5 separate regions of the Homo sapiens genome follow, and regions 1, 3, 4 and 5 are each linked to region 2. Evidence: promoter capture Hi-C in 16 types of primary human blood cells and fetal thymus (Javierre and others, 2016). All regions are on one chromosome and are shown on one strand. The core of a region is centred on a gene start or on the middle of the fragment in contact, and the rest is flanking DNA. Distances in the headings are between cores, read along the strand shown.

The links. The method cuts DNA at HindIII sites, captures the fragments that hold promoters and counts their contacts. A CHiCAGO score of 5 or more calls a contact.
Region 1: the fragment with the promoter of USP34 here is called in contact with the fragment with the promoter of PPP4R3B in region 2 in 1 of 17 cell types (monocytes); the score reaches 6.1 in monocytes.
Region 3: the fragment with the promoter of PAPOLG here is called in contact with the fragment with the promoter of PPP4R3B in region 2 in 1 of 17 cell types (activated CD4 T cells); the score reaches 7.4 in activated CD4 T cells.
Region 4: a fragment that was not itself captured here is called in contact with the fragment with the promoter of PPP4R3B in region 2 in 1 of 17 cell types (monocytes); the score reaches 5.9 in monocytes.
Region 5: a contact is called between a fragment that was not itself captured here and the fragment with the promoter of PPP4R3B in region 2, in 2 of 17 cell types (monocytes and fetal thymus). The highest score is 5.9, in monocytes.

The regions. Positions count from the first base shown.
Region 1 is chr2:61,469,311-61,473,313 of GRCh38, forward strand. USP34 (ubiquitin specific peptidase 34) reads right to left here and starts at 1,777. Exons shown (of 80, transcript NM_014709.4): 1 at 1,340-1,777. The coding sequence starts at 1,382. It overlaps USP34-DT (USP34 divergent transcript), which reads left to right and starts at 1,786. Exons shown (of 3, transcript NR_185882.1): 1 at 1,786-2,069. RefSeq lists silencers at 1,099-1,518, 1,609-1,688, 1,719-2,028. The HindIII fragment of the contact is 6,929 bases long and covers 1-2,656 here.
Region 2 is chr2:55,615,535-55,619,617 of GRCh38, forward strand. PPP4R3B (protein phosphatase 4 regulatory subunit 3B) reads right to left here and starts at 2,088. Exons shown (of 17, transcript NM_001122964.3): 1 at 1,610-2,088. The coding sequence starts at 1,751. PPP4R3B-DT (PPP4R3B divergent transcript) reads left to right here and starts at 2,396. Exons shown (of 3, transcript NR_186624.1): 1 at 2,396-2,848. RefSeq lists enhancers at 1,044-1,970, 1,971-2,895, 1,989-2,388, 2,409-2,458. The HindIII fragment of the contact is 10,945 bases long and covers 1-4,083 here.
Region 3 is chr2:60,753,345-60,757,599 of GRCh38, forward strand. PAPOLG (poly(A) polymerase gamma) reads left to right here and starts at 2,924. Exons shown (of 22, transcript NM_022894.4): 1 at 2,924-3,151. The coding sequence starts at 3,135. RefSeq lists an enhancer at 2,840-3,149. The HindIII fragment of the contact is 3,911 bases long and covers 2,477-4,255 here.
Region 4 is chr2:61,187,121-61,190,961 of GRCh38, forward strand. It overlaps USP34 (ubiquitin specific peptidase 34), which reads right to left. Exons shown (of 80, transcript NM_014709.4): 77 at 3,398-3,538; 78 at 3,151-3,294; 79 at 1,790-1,949; 80 at 343-1,589. The coding sequence ends at 982. It also overlaps the pseudogene AHSA2P. Among named protein-coding and RNA genes, the nearest start is that of C2orf74-AS1, 11 kb to the left of the region's middle. The HindIII fragment of the contact is 2,357 bases long and covers 1,153-3,509 here.
Region 5 is chr2:61,528,604-61,532,833 of GRCh38, forward strand. The region is part of intron 2 of XPO1 (exportin 1); the gene reads right to left. Among named protein-coding and RNA genes, the nearest start is that of XPO1, 7.6 kb to the right of the region's middle. The HindIII fragment of the contact is 980 bases long and covers 2,174-3,153 here.

The DNA.
Region 1 (4,003 bases), core at 527-3,026, 5.9 Mb after region 2:
ATCACACGACTTGTATGTGAGATATAAAACACAGTAAGTATTGAGGATTTAAGTTTATCATATCGTAAACCGCCTGCGCCAGAAATAAAAGTATCTCAAAATACACACAAATAATCTTAAAATTCTAGGATAATTTAGGGTGACACAAATACTGGAACCTCTAGTTGGAATATGTGCAAAAGCCTATTCCACCTATCAGGAAGTAAATACGGAGTTGAAATTAAGTTAGAACCCTTCCACTTTTATTATTGTCTTTGGTCATTAAAGTGACAGTCAAACACAAATACCATGGTACATTTTATAAATCAACTGTTTTAGCGAATTGTATTACAAAATTAGATAGTCTGAAAGTCTGTGGAAATATCACAAACAGAATACAAATCCAAAACCCACATAAACTGTTCATAAGTGAGCATTTTTTCAACAATCAACTTTTTGTAAATTGATCCCTTCATCTAATTCACCTCTGCCAACTAGGCCTTTACGCCCAGAAGTAGTTGATTTGCAATATATCTTCTATAAGCTGAAATACCATCTTGCAAGGGTCGAGAATAAAATAAAAAGGCCAGAAAAGATCAACGTACCCTTTTTAATAATAAAAAGTAAAGTACCAGGTAAAAGGCCTTTCCTTCCAAGAGAGATAGGCCATAACTATCCCGGGATGGTATGTGTAGTACAGTGCTCTGCTTAACAGAATGTACCATTAAAGCGGTGAATGCTACACTAAGAAACATCATTAACAAATTTATTTTAAAAATAGGTATGAAGGTTCCAATCATCACTATCACAGTTCGTTTTCAGCTATTTAAGGTCTGGCTGAAGTGTTTAAGACACCCACAAACCCGCAAGGGAGGGAAAAACCACCACCCTGCTCCCGGGAGTTTAATGAAAATTAGCAGGTAAGAGAGGCCTCGGCAGCACGCTGGAAATCAAAGAGGGCGGCCGGAGGATTTGGACTGCGGAGGAAAGCCTCGTCCTCCGACCCCACCTCCCCGCACCTTCCCGGCAGGGCGAAGGAGGCGAAGGCGGCGAGGGGTTCATTACTGCCTTCATTAATTGACACCTGTAATGAGGAAACTTTCCGAGAGCCCAGAGCGCCCGGGCCAGGCCGAGCCGGAGCTCCGCGGCGGCCGCCTCTCGGGCGCCCAGGTAACCCGGCCGGGCTGGGCCCGAGGCGCCGCGGCGGCCGCGCCACCGCGCACCTTCCCGGGGCGCTAGGCCCGCACGCCGCCCGGCCCGGCCGTCGCCTCCCGCAGGCCGCGGCAGCCCGGGGAGGCCAGAGAGCTGCGCGAGGACCCCAAACCGTGCACCCCGACAGGCCGCTACCGCGGCTACTTACTTTCATTTAACACCTCCACCAGGTCTGCGCAGTTCTCGCACATCGTTCGGCCGCCGCCCCCCCCCTCCCCCGCTTCGGATCACACTGACTGATCCCGACCGGCGGGGGGGAGGGGAGAGAGGCGGAGGAGGGGGCCGGCCGGCCGGCGGGGCGGGGAGGCGACTAGGGCGGGCGGCGGCGGGGACGGGGCGGGGAGCAAGAGAATGGGGGAGGGGGCCGGCGGTCCCCGCAGCGGGAGGGGGAGAGGAGGGGAGCGAGGGGAGGTGCGCAGGCCGGAGGGGCGCCGAGGCGCCGGCGGCGGGGAAGGGGGGGAAGGACGGGGGGAGGGGAGAGGGGGGGAGGGGGCGGGTGGGGAGAGAAGCAGCAGAGTCACTTCACCGACCAGACGCCGCGGCCACCGCCGACGCCGCCGCCATTTTAACAGAGCGCTCGGGCTGCGCTCGGCTCTTTCCGCCCGGGCTTAGGAGCGGACGAGAGGCGCCTCGCGCTCTCATTCCTCCGCCTCCCTCCCTTTCTCGCCTCTCCTCCGCCCCCCACCTCTCCCTCCGCACACACGCCGCACGCTCCACACCCCGCCGTGGCCGGCTCGCCGCCCTCCCTTTCCTCTTCCGTCCGGCCTCCCCGCCCTCGGTCCACCCCCTCCGCGCGCTCGCCCACCCCGCCCAGCCCGGATCTCTGTCAGCGGCCGGAAGGGAAACGCGAAGCCAGCGCGGCCGCGGGGGGAGTCCGGGTGAGTAGGAGAAGATGGCGGAGGCAACGGACGGGTCGCGGTTGCGTGGCGTCGCCCACCACGACCCACTCCACGGGCTCTGAGGCCCGGGGAGCGCCAGGTCACTCGCTCCGTCCTGTCCCCCGCCCCTGGGCTTCGCCATTTTTCCCCAGGGCCTGGGTCGGGGAGTTGGTGCGGGTTTCTTTGGTGTCCCCGGCCTCTTCCGCGCTTAGGCTTTTGGGGTACGGGAAGCAAGGAGTCAACTTGGGTGCCGGGCCGGGTCTACGCCGTAGCCCTCTTTCGGGCGCAAGGGCCACTCCCCCCGGGGTCTGAGAGTGAATCAGCCCAGGGCCCGGCTTAACTGCATCGGTGATTATCGCTACCCTGCAGTTCCTTGAAGGTCCTCCGTCCTGGAGCAGTAAGATCCTTGACGTAACTAGAAATGGCAGGGTAAGGAGTGTTTGCCTGACATCGTCTCGTTTTTACGGAAGAGGGCCCCTCACGATGTGCCCATCAGCCCCACCTGAAATAGCAAGAAATCTTCTTCAGCAGAGAGCGAATAACAAGGATATTAAGATAAAGAACAGGTGAAGGGGGCAGTCAGCTGAAGCTTGTAAGGGAATTTTCCTCACGCCGGCACTTACCCCTTGCTTGCTAATTTTTGTGTTCAACGTGTTTACATAGACATGTGACTGCAAAGTCCGAAAGATCGTGTACAGAATCTCTGAACGGTAACCAGAGTGTCTGTCAAGGCTCTGTAGTCATTCTCTCGATAGCTTTTGTGGAGGTTATGGCACGCCCATCTCTCCATGCCAGAACCACCTGGTTCCAAATGCTTTGCCTTTCTGCTGCTTGAAGTTGATACTATAAACAGTCTGCCCAACCCGTTTTGTTTCCCACTAGCAGGTGATCCTTAGGATTGTAGTTCTATTCTACCATCATCTTCCCTTCTTCCTTGTCTTTCTCACAGAATTGGGTTTTTGCAGACTTACTTTGGATCCTGAGGCAGACATTCGTTGTCCACTCAACATACATTCCCACGTATCCCTTTTTTCCCTGCCAACACAACCCCAATTATTTTTATTTGAATTTTTTTTTTTTGAGACAAAGTCTCACTCTGTCGCCAAGGTTAGAGTGCAGTGGTGCGATCACAGTTCACTACAGCCTCCACTTTATGGGCTCAAGGGATCCTCCCACTTCCCTAGTAGCTGGGGCTACAGGCGCTCTCCACCACACGTAACTAATTGTTTTTTATTTTTAGTAGGGACAGGGTCTTGCTATGTTACCCAGGCTGGTCTCAAACTCCTGGCCTCAACTGATCCTCCGGCCCAAAATGTTAGGATTACAGGTATGAGCCAACGTGCTGGTCTCACGTTTTTTCAGGTAGCAGTTGAAACCAACCATCATGGTGATCTGGCTTTTCTAGGGCTGGCCATACATAATTGAGTTCCTCCTGATAAAAGGTAAGCAACAATCCTGAGAAACATAGTGGGAGCCCTGTGTCTACAAAAATTTAAAAGGTGGCTGGGCGCGTTGGCTCACTCCTGAAATCCCGCACTTAGGGAGGCTGAGGTGAGCAAATCACCTGAGGTCGGGAGCTCTAGACCGGCCTGACCAACATGGACAAAGCTCATCTCTGCTAAAAATACAAAATTAGGCATGGTGGTGCATGCCTGTAATCCCAGCTACTCAGGAGGCTGAGGCAGGAGAATCGCTTGAACCCGGGAGGCAGGGGTTGCGGTGAGCCGAGATCGCGCCATTGCACTCCAGCCTGGGATAAGAGTGAAACTCCGTCTCATAAAAAAAAAAAAAAAAAAAGGCCAGGCATGGTGGTTCATGCCTGTAATCCCAGCGCTTTGGGAGGCCGAGGCGAGAAGATCACTAAATCAGGAGATTGAGACCATCCTGGCTAACACGGTGAAACCCCGTCTCTACTAAAAATACAAAAAATTAGC
Region 2 (4,083 bases), core at 838-3,337:
GTCTCAAATGATAAAACCCTGAATAAAAATTAGAATACACATTAAAGCCGGGCGCAGTGGCTCACGTCTGTAATCCTAGCACTTTGGGAGGCGGGCAGATCACGAGGTCAAGAGATCCAGACCATTCCAGCCAACATGGTGAAACCGTCTCTACTAAAAATACAAAAATTAGCTGGGCGTGGTGGCGCATGCCTGTAGTCCCAGGTACACGGGAGGGTGGGGCAGGAGAATCGCTTGAGAGAGAGGGAGAGGAGGCAGAGGTTGCAGTAGCCCAGATCGCGCCATTGAACTCCAGCCTGGCAACAGAGCAAGACTCTGTCTCCAAAAAAAAAAAAAAAAAAAAAAAAATACACATTTAAACCCCGCCCCCCGCCCCCGCAAACTTTTCAAGTCTTTTTACCGAGTTGGACATCTTAATAAAATGTATTCGAATTCACATTTTCTCTCCAAATCTAGGCTTCACATTTAATCTAAAATATTTCACCCTATTCCCATACACCCTTAAAGGAAAAATTAATCTAAAACCAACAATCAAACCAAGGAATGAGGAGACTAGATGACTATTAAAATTTTATTGAAATAAAAATTTTAAGGTCTAAATGACCACTTCAAGCCATTCGTTTTAACAAAAGTTGTTTTATTGCATTCCCAGTTTAACAAATAATGCAAATTACAAAACAAAAACATCATGACAGGGATTAAATACTTAGTATAGAAATTACAGTGCTGCATTTATCCTTTCCTCATTAAGAACAAAAGAACACCTTCTGTAGAAGTGATGACTATTTAAAATAAAAGGGAACAAGCAAGAATACAAAATATGTCAAGACTAAACCTAAGATTATTTTTCTAACTGCCTATATCAGTTGTTCAAATCAAGTCCAGATTATACTATAAAAGGCATTTTAATTACGGCTCTACATTTTGTAATTTAAAATACTTCACATGACTACAATAAACCAAAGAACACAGCAGTTTACAACCTGCTTTGGTGTCCCAACTTGCTTAGATTGTAAGGCATTCACTTTCTCATAGCGCCTTCTACAAAGGCAGCCCGAAGAAATGCAGACTACAGATGTATGTGCTTGTGTGTCCATGTATCGTGGCAACAGTCAGCAATACAGCCAGGAAAACGTGCCTTTCGGTTTTCCCCAGCACCTGTCGACTGTGGCACCTGGGGCCCGTTGGTACAATTTTTTTTTTTTAAAAACACTCGGAAAGAAAAGTTTCCCTAAACCGTTTGTACTAGACGTATAATGGATAAGTAAATAAAGGGGGAGGAAGGTGTCAGCTCCTAGGGCGACATCAGTACCTAGTCTCTCACTACTTCCTCCCTTCTCTCTCACACTCTCCCCTCTTCAAAAGAGGAGGGACTGGAAAGGAAGGAGTCCAATCCTTAAGAGAGATGGGAGAAGGACAGAGAGTCTCGGTCTCCGAGGATAAGTCCAGTCAAAAGTACAGTACTTTGTTTTTGCCGTACACAAGAGCCAGTTCAGAACCAACGCGCTGTCCCGAAGGAGTAGCAACGGTAACGGGCCCAGGGCCCTAAACCCAAGCTGTGCCCCAACCAGAGGCACTATCCCCTATTCTACAGTTCCGATAACCTTACCGTCGGACTCTGCCCGAACCAGCAGCGACATCCCCTTGAGCTCCTCCACGTAAGTGGAGGAGACGTGCCCGGTGCCTCGGTCGTCCCATTGCCGGTCTTCGTTCAGGGTATAGACCTTCACTCGCCGCCGCGTATCCGACATGGTGGCTGCTGTCTCCACCGCTCTAGCCGCCGCCTCCTCGCTTACCTCGTCCGCGCTCCTCACTCTTAGGAGACGGTAAAGGCAGTAGTGGCGGTGGCGGCGGCGGCGGCTTCGGAGAGGCCCGAATTCACCATGGCTCCAAAGGTTCAGCCGCGAGAAGGGGTGACAAGAGCCACTGAGGCCTCTCCGCCCGGAGGCCCCGTTACCTCTCACTTCACCCGCGCATACACCCACTCTCCCGTCTCTTTGCCCCCCAGGGCTCGCTTGCTCTCCCGCCGCCGCGGTAACTACTACAGATCCGCCATCTTGTAACCCGACTCTCTCTGCCTTTCTCTTCCTCCTCCAGCAGGCTCGCACGGGCTGTCCTAGCAGGGGCTACGGCGGCCGACAAGTCCCATGAGCAGCACCTCCGCTTCTGCACGCGCTTCCCAGGCCGGAATGCTCGGCGCTCTCGCGAGGAGGGGTACCGACTGGGGCGGGAGTACTTCGGCGAGACTTCCTCCTCTTTCGGCCCGACTTCCTCCTCTTTCGGCCCCGCCTCTTGGCGCGGGGTCGCAATTGGGCGGGAGGTTCTCGCGATCTCCCCGTCCACGCCTGCGCCGCGAGAGGCCGCTAGGTGGAAGGGGACTTCGGTTCCGCACGTCGTCATGTTGTTGGATGGCACCAGTATGTGACGTTCCTAGGAACTTAGCTCTGAGGAAAAAACAAAGCAAACCGGGGAAGTACGTAGCCTTGAACCGGAGTAACCAGGGACAGAAAGGAAGGAAAAGGGTTTCATACCTTCACGGAACGACGCTCACTTCGTCCGCCTGAGGAGGAAAAATAAGTTTAAACCTTTCTGTGAAAAAGAACGTGGAGCCCTTTCTGCCGAATGGAAACCCGCTAAACCCCGTTATGGAGTCTGCTACAATTAAGCATCTAACCAGGAATTGTCTATGGACACAACTCTCCAGGCAATTCATGCAGAAAGTGTGTTGACGATTTCCTGTTTCTTGCAGAGCGCTTCACCGTTAAGGCTCTTAGTAGCTGGCGATTGTAAAGCACATTTTCCGCTTCATGAAAATACAGTGCTCTTCTTGTGTTTGTAACCTTGGAAAGTAAGTCTGCTATGATAAGTTTAGGGAAGTGGCGGGGAGCTACTTTCCTAACATATCTGTGATTGTTTTGATACTTCTCAGTTTCTCGCGGGCATTTCCTGCGTTCTCTATAGGGCTCTCTTGCACTGAATAAGGAAAGGAGGAATTCTCTCTGCATTGAGGCTATTATCGCACATTGTGCGGTGGATATAGTCACGCGCTGGGTCGTAGTAGCGTGTCGTTTATTTCAGTCCAGCTCACTCTTGGTAGAATCCCTTTATTCGTTTTGTTGTTTTTGATAGTCTCTCTCTGCTTCCCAGGCTAGAGTGCAATGGCGCTATCTCGACTCACTGTAGCCTCCGCCTTGAGGGCTCAAGCGATCCTCTCACCTCAGCCTCCCGAGTAGCTGGGACCGTAGACGCCTGCTCCCCATCCCCGCTATATTCGTTCTTTAATACAGTCTCTCAGCTTGTTCAGCTGCCACTTCTGTGCAGCTCATTAGCCTGATCGGTGAAAACTAGGCGAGACGCGCACACTGACCCTGCAGTGCATCTTGGGAGTTGTAGTCATAACTAATCAATGGTCTTGTTAAAACGTGCTTATGTTTTGACCAGATCGCTTAAGTGTGGACACCCTTCAGCAGTACACTACAACGTGGGTCAGTGTACAGAACACATGCTGATAGAAATAATTTCAAAATCTGGATTCATAGTTTTTTTTTTTAATCTAGAGACCTCAGAAAATGTACTTGAAGAAAATCATCATAATATAATACATAACAATAGAGCCAATTAATTGATGTGATGAAAGTGGACAAAATGTATTTTGACCTCAGAGAAAATAACATTTCTGTCTTGGAAGAGTCAGAGAATGCTTCACACAATTTTTGAGCCTGATGTTAGACTCTCCAGCCTTCTGTCCAAGCCTCACCCTTTGGTTACTCCCCAGGAAGACTGAACTTGGGAAGAGGATTGTGCAGACCCTGGAGTCAGGCTTGGCGTTTGGGATAGGGAATACTAGAGTGCCCACAGCATGGTCTGGAAAAGGGAAAGTGGGCTGCAGGTGGCTACAGTCCCATGATTCCATGGATTTCAGACCCCTCCAAAGCACAGGGCTCAGTGCTTATCCAAGTCTGAGGGCCCCCCATAACCACATCTTCCCCAGCAGATGTTCTTTGCTTCAGGCAGTCATCAAAGTTCCACTTCAAAGAGTTGCTAACCAAATAAGCCCACAATCTTCCTTTTTTGTTGTTTTGA
Region 3 (4,255 bases), core at 1,674-4,173, 5.1 Mb after region 2:
GGAAAGGAGTTTGAGACCAACCTAGCTAACATGGTGAAACTCCATCTCTACTAAAAATACAAAAATTAGCCAGGTATGGTAGCGCGCACCTGTAATCCCAGCCACTGGGGAGGCTGAGGCAGGAGAATGGCTTCAACCCAGGAGATGGACATTGCAGTGAGCCAAGATCACAGCACTGCACTCCAGCTTGGGCAACAGAGGGAGAGTCTGTCTCAAAAATAAAATACAGGCCGGGCACGGTGGCTCACGCCTGTAATCTCAGCACTTTGGGAGGCCGAGGCAGGCGGATCACCTGAGGTCAGGAGTTCAAGACCAGCCTGGCCAACATGGCAAAATGCTGTCTCTACTAAAAATACAAAAATTAGCTGGGCATAGTGGCGGGCACCTGTAAACCCAGCTACTCAGGAGGCTGAGGCAGGGGAATCACTCGAAACCGGAAGGTGGAGGTTGCAGTGAGCTGAGATCACATCACTGCACTCCAGCCTGGGCAAGAGATGGAAAGGAGGGACAGACGTCCGCTCTTTTTTTTTATGCGCATGGGTTAGTTTTGTCATTTGAAAATTTTTAACTTAACAAATACAGTTACAATATACACTGCAAATAAGAAAAATGTCCTTATTGAAATTGGGGTTGGGAAAAATACAGTATCCTTATTGAGATGGGGGTTAGGGACTGTCATTAAATCCCAGGTAGATTAACAAAGACAGGAAAATGGGAAGAAAAGCAATTGATTAAAACACCGTGGCCGGGCATGGTGGCTCACGCCTGTAATCCCAGCACTTTGGGAGGCTGAGGCTGGCGGATCACGAGGTCAGGAGTTCAAGACTAGCCTGACCAATATGGTGAAACCCTGTCTGTACTAAAAATACAAAAATTAGGCTGGAAGCGGTGGCTCACGCCTGTAATCCCAGCACTTTGGGAGGCTGAGATGTGCGGCCAACATGGTGAAAGTCCATCTCTAAAATACAAAAAATTAGCCAGGCGTGGTGGCGCACGCCTGTAGTCCCAGCTACTCGGGAGGCTGAGACAGGAGAATCATTTGAACCCAGGAGGCAGAGGATGCAGTGAGCCAAGATCATGCCACTGTGCTGCAGCCTAGGTGACAGAGCAAGACTCCATCTCAAAAATAAATAAATAAATAAATAATAAAACACTGCTTGGCTGGGTGTGGTGGCTCACATCTGTAATCCTAGCACTTTGGGAAGCCGAGGTGGGCGGATTACCTGATGTCAGGAGTTTGAGACTAGCTGGCCCACATGGTGAAACCCCGTCTGTACTAAAAATACAAAAATATAGCTGGACGTGGTGGTGCATGCCTGTAATCCCACCTACTCAGGAGGCTGAGCAGAGATCACGCCACTGCACCCCAGCCTGGGCAACAGAGCGAGACTCCATCTCAAAAAAACCTCTGCCTCTCGGGTTCACGCAATTCTCCTGCCTCACCCTGCTGAGTAGCCGGGATCACAGGCGCACCACGCACCCAGCTAGTTTTTCTATTTTTAGTAGAGATGGGGTTTCACCATGTTGGCCAGGCTGGTCTCGAACTCCTGACCTCAAGTGATCCACCCGCCTCAGCCTCCCAAAATGTTAGGATTACAGGTGTGATCCACCACACCAGGCCACGTCAGGTTTTTGTTGTTGCTTTTAAGTAGAGATGGGTTTTTGCCATGTTGGCCAGGCTGGTCTTAATAGAACTCATGGCCTCAAGTGATCCACCAGCCTTGGCGTCACAAAGCACTGGGATTGCAGGCAAGAGCCACTGCACCTTGCTCAGGTTTTCAAAAATATGTTTTGTAGTTTTTATTTATTTATTTATTTATTTATTTTTTTGAGACAGGGTCTCCTTCTATCACTCTGGCTGGAATGCAGTGGTGCCATCCTGGTTTCCTGCAGCCTCCACGTCCTGGACTCAAAGAGATCCTCCCACCCCAGCCTCCTGAGTAGCTGGGACTACAGGCATGGGCCACCATGCCCAGCTAATTTTTTTAAAACTTTTTGTAGTGACAGGGTCTCACTATGTTGCCCAGGCTGTTCTCGAACTCCTGGCCTCAAGCAATTCTCCCACCTTGGCCTCCCAAAGTGCTGGGATTACAGGTGTGAGCCACTGTATCTTGCCTCAATAAATATTTTTTAATGAATTAATCAGCAAGTAATCTCCTCTATTTACTGTGACTCTGAGTTATGTTCAAGAGCAAGCAGTTCTTGACTTCCTTTTCTTTGTAATGATTTAGTGCTTGAAATTACTTCTACCTTTCAGCATTTTAAAATTGGTTATTATTTTCTCATTTTCATCCCCACACTCACATCGAACATGATTTCCACTATTTAAAAGTGTAAGATTTTTGTTTCAGCCTGGGATTTATCCTATTGCAAACTGCTAGCTACTATTTTCAACCTCTGTCAGCTAAATGCCAGAATGTCACTAATCAAAGGTGGTACTTAGGGGTGAAGTGAACAGTTAAGCCTCCAATTTACAAGCTTGTTTTTCCCTGGGATACTTGTGTGAAAGTCGTATGTTCCTGGGTGTGACCCTTTCGAGACAAAATCTCAACTGGTGAGTTAATTATGTATAACTATAATTAAATCAAAGATGTAGGATAACGGAGGCGTTGAAATAGTTTTTGCTAGGCAAGGGTGTGACCTTTTTAAAAAATGTATGATATATGCTGCCATTCGAGAGGCAAGGAAAACATATCTCCAAATTTCCTTCCAAGCGGTCTACCGGCATTGACAGTACCGCGGACAAAGGAGAGTACCAAATAAATACTCCTTCGAACCAACGGTATACTGAGAGCCCTGAGCTTGTGGGCGGGGCCCCGGAGCCTCCCGGGACCTAAAGGCAGAGGGGGCGTGGCTGAGGGTGGTCCAGACCTCCAGGGGCGGGGCTGAGACCTGCGAGAGGCAGGCTGGGAAGCGGCGCCATATTGGCGTCGGCCGCGCTGTATTGTCATAAATAGAGCCGGTTTTGTGGTGTTTTCACTACTCGGTTGGATGCCTCAGCCATAGTAAGTGGGAAAGTGAGCGAGCAAGCGAGCTACTAGCGACCGGAGGAAAGTGAACAGGGGGAGAAGGGAACAGCAAGAACAGGACTCCAGAGCGATAAACACTCGCTGGAGAGGGAGACGCAGGAAGCGATGAAAGAGATGTCTGCGTAAGTGGTGGGGGGCGGCGGTTGGGGTGAGGCGGGTAGGGGTGAGCTGAGGTGGTCCGACTGTGTCCTTGTTTCCGTTCCCTGTCCCTTGCGCCCTGCACGCAGCTCGCCGGGATGGTCTCCTTCCCGGCTCCCGGCCGGTCCGCAAGGGCACCTCCCCTAAACCCGGCGGCTCACCTGGCCACCCCTGCACGGACTCGGGGACTCCGGGAGTCCCCAGCTGTCCCGCCTCCGAGGACGCCCTCAGAAAAGGATGAGGAGGGAAAGAGGTGCCTGTGTCCGTAGGGAGAAATTGTCGGTCACTCGCCTGCCCCCAGCACTGTCTGAGCCCGTCTGCTCCTGTCTGCATTGGCGCAAATACCATCCCCCTGCCTCCCCCTCCTCCCTTCCCGACCGGCTGTCTCCAGGTCTTCAGGAGTGAAAGACCTATCGCAGCCCAAGGGTTTCTCTTTCATATGAGGCTACAGTCTTTTCACCGCCGTCCCCACCCTCTCCCTCACCCCCTGCTTCCCCACCTACCCACAACATCTACCGGTCTGTACCTCTTGTTCACACTTTGATAAGTCAGAAACAGTTCCCGTACTTGGCAAGATTTTGTTGTAGCTTCTTCCATTTTGGTCTATTAGGAAATAATTTAAACATGCAGAAAAATGTAGAGAATAACATAAGCATCATTTGTGGAGCCACCACCCATTTCTCCCAAAACGTAACTGTACACACATACACGTACATGCACACACGCACACACACGGTGTGTATATACGTATCTGTGTATTTATTTTAAAAAGAAATCAAGCATTCCAGATACATCTGAAGGACTCTCCTACCTCCTTCTCTGGTCCCAATCATCTCTTGCTCCAGATGTCTCCACAGTCTTGAATTTGATGTTTATCGTTGCTGCCTGTTTTTTATTTTACTTCTTTTTTTTCCGCCCTCGAATCATGGGAGCTGCATGTTTTTTAATGCTATTACTACATACACATGTGTTCATAATAACTGGCATAGTTCTAGTTGTTTTTAAACTTTATATAACTCGTATCACACTTGGAATTCTGTAACTTCTTTAGCACAACATAGTATCTCTGAGCTTTGTTCATGTTAGTA
Region 4 (3,841 bases), core at 1,081-3,580, 5.6 Mb after region 2:
CAAAAAATAAATGGCATGTTGACACTATTCCTTTATTTTACTTTAGGGTTTTTAAGGTGTGTAGATCTTAGGTCGTAAAACAGTGGTATATTGCATTCAAAAGCATGTTGAGGTGAGGGCAAATTGGCTGTGTTTTGCTCCACATCTCCCTGCACATCTCCCTGCTGTGGTTTTGCACTTCGGTGTGGAGAGGATTGAGAAGTCTGTGGGGACACATTAGTTCTGTGGACTGCTGGTAACACTTCCAGTGAAACAGCATATAATGGATAAATGTTTCCCCCCTCTTTCACGGTTTTCTCACTACTTTCACCTGAGAAGACTGAAGCAACGTATGTAAACAAATGAAAAGTCATCACAATCAGTTTAATTAAGTGCACAGAATAGCAATCAATCAATCAGTCATGTCAATAAAAATAAAACAATTATTTTTACATCAAGTGTGCTTTATTTCCTCCACAGGTATTCTGTTAAATAAAGCACCATTTATATACTGCCAGGCCACAGCTAAAGAGGATTCTTTACAGAATCAAATTTCTTGTGGTTGTTCCGTATACAAGTAAACTTAATTTTGATAATAAGAACCACAGCGATCGGAGGCAATCTGCCTCTATAAGGTACAAAACTGGCACAGAGGACACCATATCATACACAGTAAAAATGCTGTAAGTTTAAATTACATTGTACAGGGCTAGGCAACCCTGTTCTTCCCAGACAGCCATATTAAATGAAAGCCACTAAAGTGAACTCTTAATTACATAAAACATATCCATTATCTGATTGCCCTTTAGGAAGTATACTGAAGATGCAAGTTTTTTTCATCTGGAGTTCTGCCTGACCAAGAATTAAGCCTATAAATCTATCTTGCCATTCAAGCAGAGAGCACTGGACAAACTGAAGCACAAAAACAAATAAGCAAAACTTATACAAACAGCATGGGGGTTGGGGGTGAGGGACTTAAAAGTAGACATGCTACACCTAATGTCAAGAAGCAGCTTGGTTTCCTTTGCCAGATATCCTTGTGACGACATGGATTGTAGATTCAATGGTCCTACACAGGGTATCTAAAATGTCATGTTGCTGCATATGACTAAAGAGTCCTCTGGAATGGCCACAACTGAGAGATAAAGCAACCTCAGGGTCCTGGGAGGGCAAAGCTTGGCCATCACAGCTTCTCAAGTCAGCTAAGTCAGACAGAACTGCAGAGATAGAAGTAGAAGGGAACTCAGATTCTTCCTCAGCTAGGGTAGAATCCTTGGAACAGTGGAGGTCTTTAAATTCTTTACAATCGTCATATCTACCATTGTTGGACTGTTCTTCTGCATGCTGTGACCTGATATTTGACATGTCTTCTGAAAACGAAGATGGAACTTCCATTCGGTATTCTTTAACAGAACTATTTTCAGGGGAAGGAAGATCTTGCTCAGTTCCTGGATCAATAATTGAGGAGTCTCTGGTCTCATTGTCAGAAGTGCTCGTTGGGGTCAGGACCTCCCTGGTTTCTGTTTTCATGTCACTGATGCAGCTGTCTACAGTGTGCTCCTCATCACTGCTAACACGCCGCCTTTTAATGGGAGTTGCTCCTTCATCATCTGTGAAAACACATGCCAAAAGGGAAACTTCTCTGAAAGTCATTAAGATCACGTTAGGGGGGGATGTGGGAAGTTAATTTTGTTTCTAGCATTTATATTTAGGAGGTTCAGCTGAACACACAACTCTTAAACCAGTTACACCAAGTGTATTACTCCCTCCTCCCACCCTAAAGGTAATGATAGTAGTCCATAAAGCTAACCTTTAGTTTTTCTTTCTTTGGCTTCTTGCTCTTGGAGTGAGTTTCTCTGTTGCAGACAAGTCCTGCATTTGCTTAAAAGCTCTTGCAGAGTTGGAATTAGAGCTGGGTTTAACTGTTTGGGAGTGTGTACTGACAGGAGCAAAGCGAGTGCCCTCAGGTCCTACAAAAACCCAGATAGGAACATTTCAAATTCTAAAGCCAACACTTTGATGCAGTTGTTTACAGTTAATTGCAGATGTTTATTTTCCCAGGAATCCATTCTTTCCTAAGAATACCCTGGTTTCTCTGGGATTCTTAGAATGATAAAACCAGAAAGCCAGTGTTAAGATACTACAGCATTTCATTAGTTGTTTTTTTTTTTTGTTTTGTTTTTGTTTTTTTTGAGATGGAGTCTTGTTCTTTGGCAAGGCTGGAGTGCAGTGGTGTAATCTCGGCTCGCTGCAACCTCCACCACCCGGGTTCAAGCGATTCCCCTCCCTCAGCCTCCCAAGTAGCTGGGACTACAGGCGCCCGCCACCACGCCTGGCTTAATTTTTTCTATTTTAGTAGAGACAGGGTTTCACCATGTTGGCCATTGAGATGGTCTCAATCTCCTGACCTCGTTATCCACCGGCCTCGACCTCCCAAAATGCTTGGATTGCAGGCATGAGCCACCGTGCCCAGCCTCATTAGTTCTTAAAGTCACTAATAGCATTATTTTATGCCCACGAACCAGTAAGTCAGACCAAAGCCTGAAATAGTGTTTTCTGAAAAATGGAAAAGGAAATATAAGAATTTTAAAAACAAACCTTGAAATCAGTTTCTCAAGTTAAAATTCTGATGGATGTCACAAATAGTAAGGTCTTCCTTACTGAGCTCTGTCATCTGTTTTGGCTTTTATGCATACTGTGATTTGGGAGGCTGCTGCTCAACATTCTAGCCCATTTCCAGAGTGTTCCATTATTCTAGGACATGGCTGTCATGGGAGTCTGCACAAGGCAACTAATGCTCTAGATTTAACTGCCTTTTTTAAATCAGTAGATCATTAATTGTTTCAGTTACATAGGAGCCATAGGCAGTAATAGAAACATCACAAGTATTGTTTCCAAAAATATACCCAACTAGAGATAAGACCACTAAGATGTTCCCTTTATTACCTTTCAGCATTTAATGATACCAGCTTGTAGCTTCCAAGGTGATAGAGTGTGCTGTGTACATACAAGGCATAGTAAACGTGTATTTAAAACTTGTTTTTTTGTCGCACATGGCTTAAGAGTTTGAATCAGTAAGTTAAAGTTACGAGAGTAAAATCATATGAAGGCCACACAGTTAACTGAAGGACAGTTTAAAAGTGTGTGCCGCCGCCTCTGCATAGTTCTTACCCCATTTAAAGAAGCACTTGCTTTGGAAATTTCAACTCGGTTGGAGAAATCAGACTGTAGGTTCTGATACTGGCTTATCAAGTTTGTAATAAGAGTGCTGATCAAATTGGCACAGTTTGCTTCAGAAAACACTTGACTTTGAACCTGAAAAAGAAGATTTAAAAAAATCTCCAAAAGACCAGCATAATGAAACCACAAGCATTAACTAATTAGAAATGACACACTGAGTTTCCAAAGTACTACGTACCTTTAGAAGGAAATGTGTCATGAACGTGTAGACAATGTTGTTGTTTAAAAAAGTTCTTTCATCCATTAGGATACATTTAATATATTCTGCGAAAACAGGATCTTCACACAAAAGCTTGATGCAGTTTTTTGACATAGCAGACTAAAGTGGGGAGAAGATGGTTGAGCACTTACGGTTGAGCACGGAAAAAACTTACACGGAAAAAACTTACACAGAAAAAACATACACTTGTGTATGATGGAATCTGAAGCCACTGAAAATCCTACTTGAAAAGCCATGTCTAACTCACCTATTGAATTTTTAGTTAACAGCAACTATTTTTCATACAGTAAAATGTTACTAATTTAGATTAAGGGAGTGCTGGGGGAAGACACTGATGCCGAAACTGAACAAATGTTTTAAAAGAAATGCAGGTTTATTATCCAGCACTGAGAGAGTTAACAA
Region 5 (4,230 bases), core at 1,414-3,913, 5.9 Mb after region 2:
ATTGCCCCAGTGCACTCCAACCTGGGTTGACTGCGTGAGACTCCCTCTCAAAAAAAAAAAAAAAATCTTTCCTGCAATTAGTTTTTTTCATTTGACAGTTTTTAAGATCCAGCCATGTCGACATTTTATTTATATATATATATATATATATATATATATATATATATATATATATATAGTTTTTTCATTTCAATAAGTTTTTCATACATTAATATTTTTACCAACAGCTTTTAATTCTATTGACAAAAAGCAATGGCTTAATCTTTTTCACTTTTGTATCTTTAAAGGTTGTTTTATAACTCAATTAGATCCTTCCTATTTCTTTTACCTATTTCTATTAAAAGTTGTAAGCAAAAAGTTTGGACCAGGTGTGGTGGCTCATGTCTGTAATCCCAGGAGTTCAAGACCAGCCTGGGCAACAAAGAAAAATTAATAATGAGCCAGGTGTGGTGGGACACGCACTTATGGTCCCAGCTACTCAGGAGGCTGAGGTGGGAAGATTGAGCCTGGGAAGTCAAGGCTGCAGTGAGCTGTGATCAAGCCATTGTGCTCCAGCCTGTGTGACAGAGCAAGAAAAAAGTTTGATGACTTTAAAATCTGTCAGTTATCTTTCTCTTATACTTTACTTTATCATGGGTTTAATTCTATGGTTATAAACAATAAAGCATCAAAAACAGGGTAGGAAGCACTCTCACAACCATTTCTGACAAAGATACCTTATAATCTTTAGCTTGGCTTTTATTCTAGTCTTTTTTAAAACAATCGTATGCTCGGGTGGGCACCGTGGCTCACGCCTGTAATCCCAACACTTTGGGTGGCCAAGGTGGGTGGATCACGAGGTCAGAAGTTCAAGACCAGCCTGGCCAACATGGTGAAACCCCGTCTCTACTAAAAATTCAAAAATTAGCTGGGCATGGTGGGGCGTACTTGTAATCCCAGTTACTCAGGAGGCTGAGGCAGGAGAATTGCTTGAACCAGGACCCGGAAGGCGGAGGTTGCAGTGATTTGAGATCACACCACTGCACTCCAGCCTGGGCTACAGAGTGAGACTCTGTCTCATTACAAAAAAAAAAAAAAAGAAAGAAATTATATGCTTATCCTGGCTTTGATGCTTTATTTTAATCATGACCTTTTCCTCAGGTAGGAAATACAATACCACATTCATGACTATCCCATACATCAATCAGGAAAACACACTGCTACACACTCAATAACTTATATGGTTGTTCTCTACCCAGAAACCCACCAGAACCACTGTGGTTGCCTGAAAAGATCAGACGCCTGCTTCCATTGTGAGTCTGTGGTTACAAGAGTTAATGTGTATACTTTAAAATACAATCATACACATTTCTATTTGATTTCATTAAAGGACTGATGGGCATAATGTGTCATATGAGAAATGACAGAAGGCCGAAAGAATAATGATGTGGCTTATCTAGGGCCAAAGCACATTTTAGCAGTGTTTTGGTCTTCTCCCTGAGAATATCTAGCTAGATAACCTTATCTAACTAGAGGAAAAGTTGTATCAAAGATCCTCACACAGTAAAAGTTACTTGGTCAAGTTACCATTTTGTCAGATGCTTTGAAGTGATAAGCATTCTACACAGAATCAAATACTTCCCACACTATCACCACTCACATCAATCGCTACATAAATAATATTCTTTCCTGTTAGTTGTAATTTTACTCTCTGATGCTACTTCTAGTATTTGCATTCTGATTTATTCTAATCCCACCATTCTTACATAATGTTCTTTATAAACTTAAAACCCCAGCAGGGGTTTAAAAAAAAAAGACACAAAAGCAAACTAAAGAGAGAAAACCTAGCATCTCCCTTGTACTACTAACTGAATGGTGAAAGCATTTTAGTTGCTAAGCAATAGAGTTCAAGATCTTTAACAGAACACAATATTGGAGAAAACATCCAACTCTTCCCGCATCTTTTTTCTAGCTGTCTACTTGGCTAAAAATAGAAAAATGCTGATAACAGAGGGTAGAGGGTAGTCCTAATGTTACACTGCTAAATATCCTACTATACTAACCATGTATGCAGAAGTTCTGTCTACAGATTAAAAGTCACCCTTGTAAATAATTTCTTCCCCTCCCCCAAGTTACACATTCCTTTAAAAAAAAAAAAACCTACCTACAGCTTTTTTTCCCAGTTGACTTTAAAAGCTTAATTAGCATAATAAATTTTTCTTGTCATTAGTGCATATTTTATGAGTAGCAAAAAAAAAATTTTTTTAATTTTAAGCAATGAGTATCACATATGCTAAATCATTTTCATTATACTGCTAAATGTACCCTTTAAGCTGAGTGCCTTCTACCTATCAAGCACTGTAATAGGTGCTTTTAAACCTCATAACTAACCCTCCAATCTCTTGTAGGACAGGTCATATTTGTACATGGGACTTAAGCAATGACTAGAGAGAGCTTCCAAGAATCAAATTAAGACGTCTAACACTAAAAATCATGTTTTCCACTATAGCAGCTCGCTGCTACTACTACTCCTTTTCCTTTGAAATAAGACCCCCAAGGAGGTGGTAAACGAAAAGTAGACTGAACTAACGACATAGGACTTTTAGAGACCAAAAGGACTCCTTAACCAGCTTTAAGCTCTAAATCTTGTTTCTTCATTTATAATACAAAATAAGTTTGCTAGTTATTTCTACGCAACTGATTTTGTCACATGATCTATTAACTACTGCAGACAAAATCCTTTTACTTTGGGAAAGTTAACCTATTGTCCTTACAAACAAAAAAATTTAGAAACACTTTTCTTAATCTACTTTTTATTAACAAGTCAATTTTAAAACAAACCATTAAATTTCTTAATACTATGAAACATTATTAAAAGCAGTATTGCTGTAATATATTCTCAATTACAAAAATTGCCACTAATTCTGTTACAAGCCATGAAGAACACTGCTCTATGTTGGTTTATTTATCATACCTTTAGATGTAGTGAACTAGTTTAGTGTGAAGATTAAACAGTATTAGTAGCTGAATCTATGCGGAAAAAATTAAATGCCCTTTTTCCCAATGGCTACAGACCTGTGCTTCCAATATTACATTCAGAGTTGAACCCAACCTTACTTTCATAGCTTCCTCCAAAAGCAGCTGCTTTCTATGCATCCATGCTAGAAGAAATGAAGCTTAAAGCTTCATGTTGAATGTATAGCATGAGTAACAACTAAATGACAGGGATAATAAATACGGATGGTTAATTTTTTCAAGAATGCTTTAGGAGATAATATACTGATCAAAACGCCCTAAAAGTATAAACCTGGGCTAACAAGCTTACAGAATCACTGCAAGAGTAATTTTTTCTACTTTTAGCGTTTCCATGGACCTTTTTCAAGTTTCTACTATAGTAAAAGCAGTACTGTTGCATTTCATAAGGGAATGGAAACATTTATACATGATGCTTTTTGGACTACTATAAAAGATAGTACTGTATCCACCTTATATATTTTCAGAAAGTGTAATGGCACTCAGGTTTAGGTTTTTTTATTTTATTTTATTTATTTATTTTTATTTTTGAGACGAAGTCTCATGCCGTTGCCCAGGCTGGAGTGCAGTGGCGCAACCTCGGCTCACTGCAAGCTCCGCCTCCCGGGTTCACGCCATTCTCCTGCCTCAGCCTCCCGAGTAGCTGGGACTACAGGCGCCCGCCACCACGCCTGGCTAATTTTTTGTGTTTTTAGTAGAGACGGGGTTTCACCGTGTTAGCCAGGATGGTCTCGATCTCCTGACCTCGTCATCCGCCGGCGTCGGCCTCTCAAAGTGCTGGGATTACAGGCGTGAGCCACCGCGCCCGGCCGGCACTCAGTTTCTTAATTATGCAAATATAAATATCTTGACAATATAAGTAACCTCCCATCTACTAGCTGAACATTTATCTAACCAGAAATCTACTGTTCTGGCAACAAAACTACCATAAAAGATTTCTGGCCAGGCGCGGTGGCTCATGCCTGTCATCTCCACACTTTGGGAGGCCAAGGCAGGCGGATCACGAGGTCAGGAGATGGAGACCATCCTGGCCAATATGATGAAACCCATCTCTACTAAAATACAAAAAATTAGCTGGGCATGGTGGCGCGTCTGTAGTCCCAGCTACTCGGGAGGCTAAGGCAGGTGAATTGCTTGAAAACCTGGGAGGCAGAGGTTGCAGTGAGCCGAGACTGTGCCACTGCACTCAGGCCTGGTGACAGAGCAAGACTCCATCTG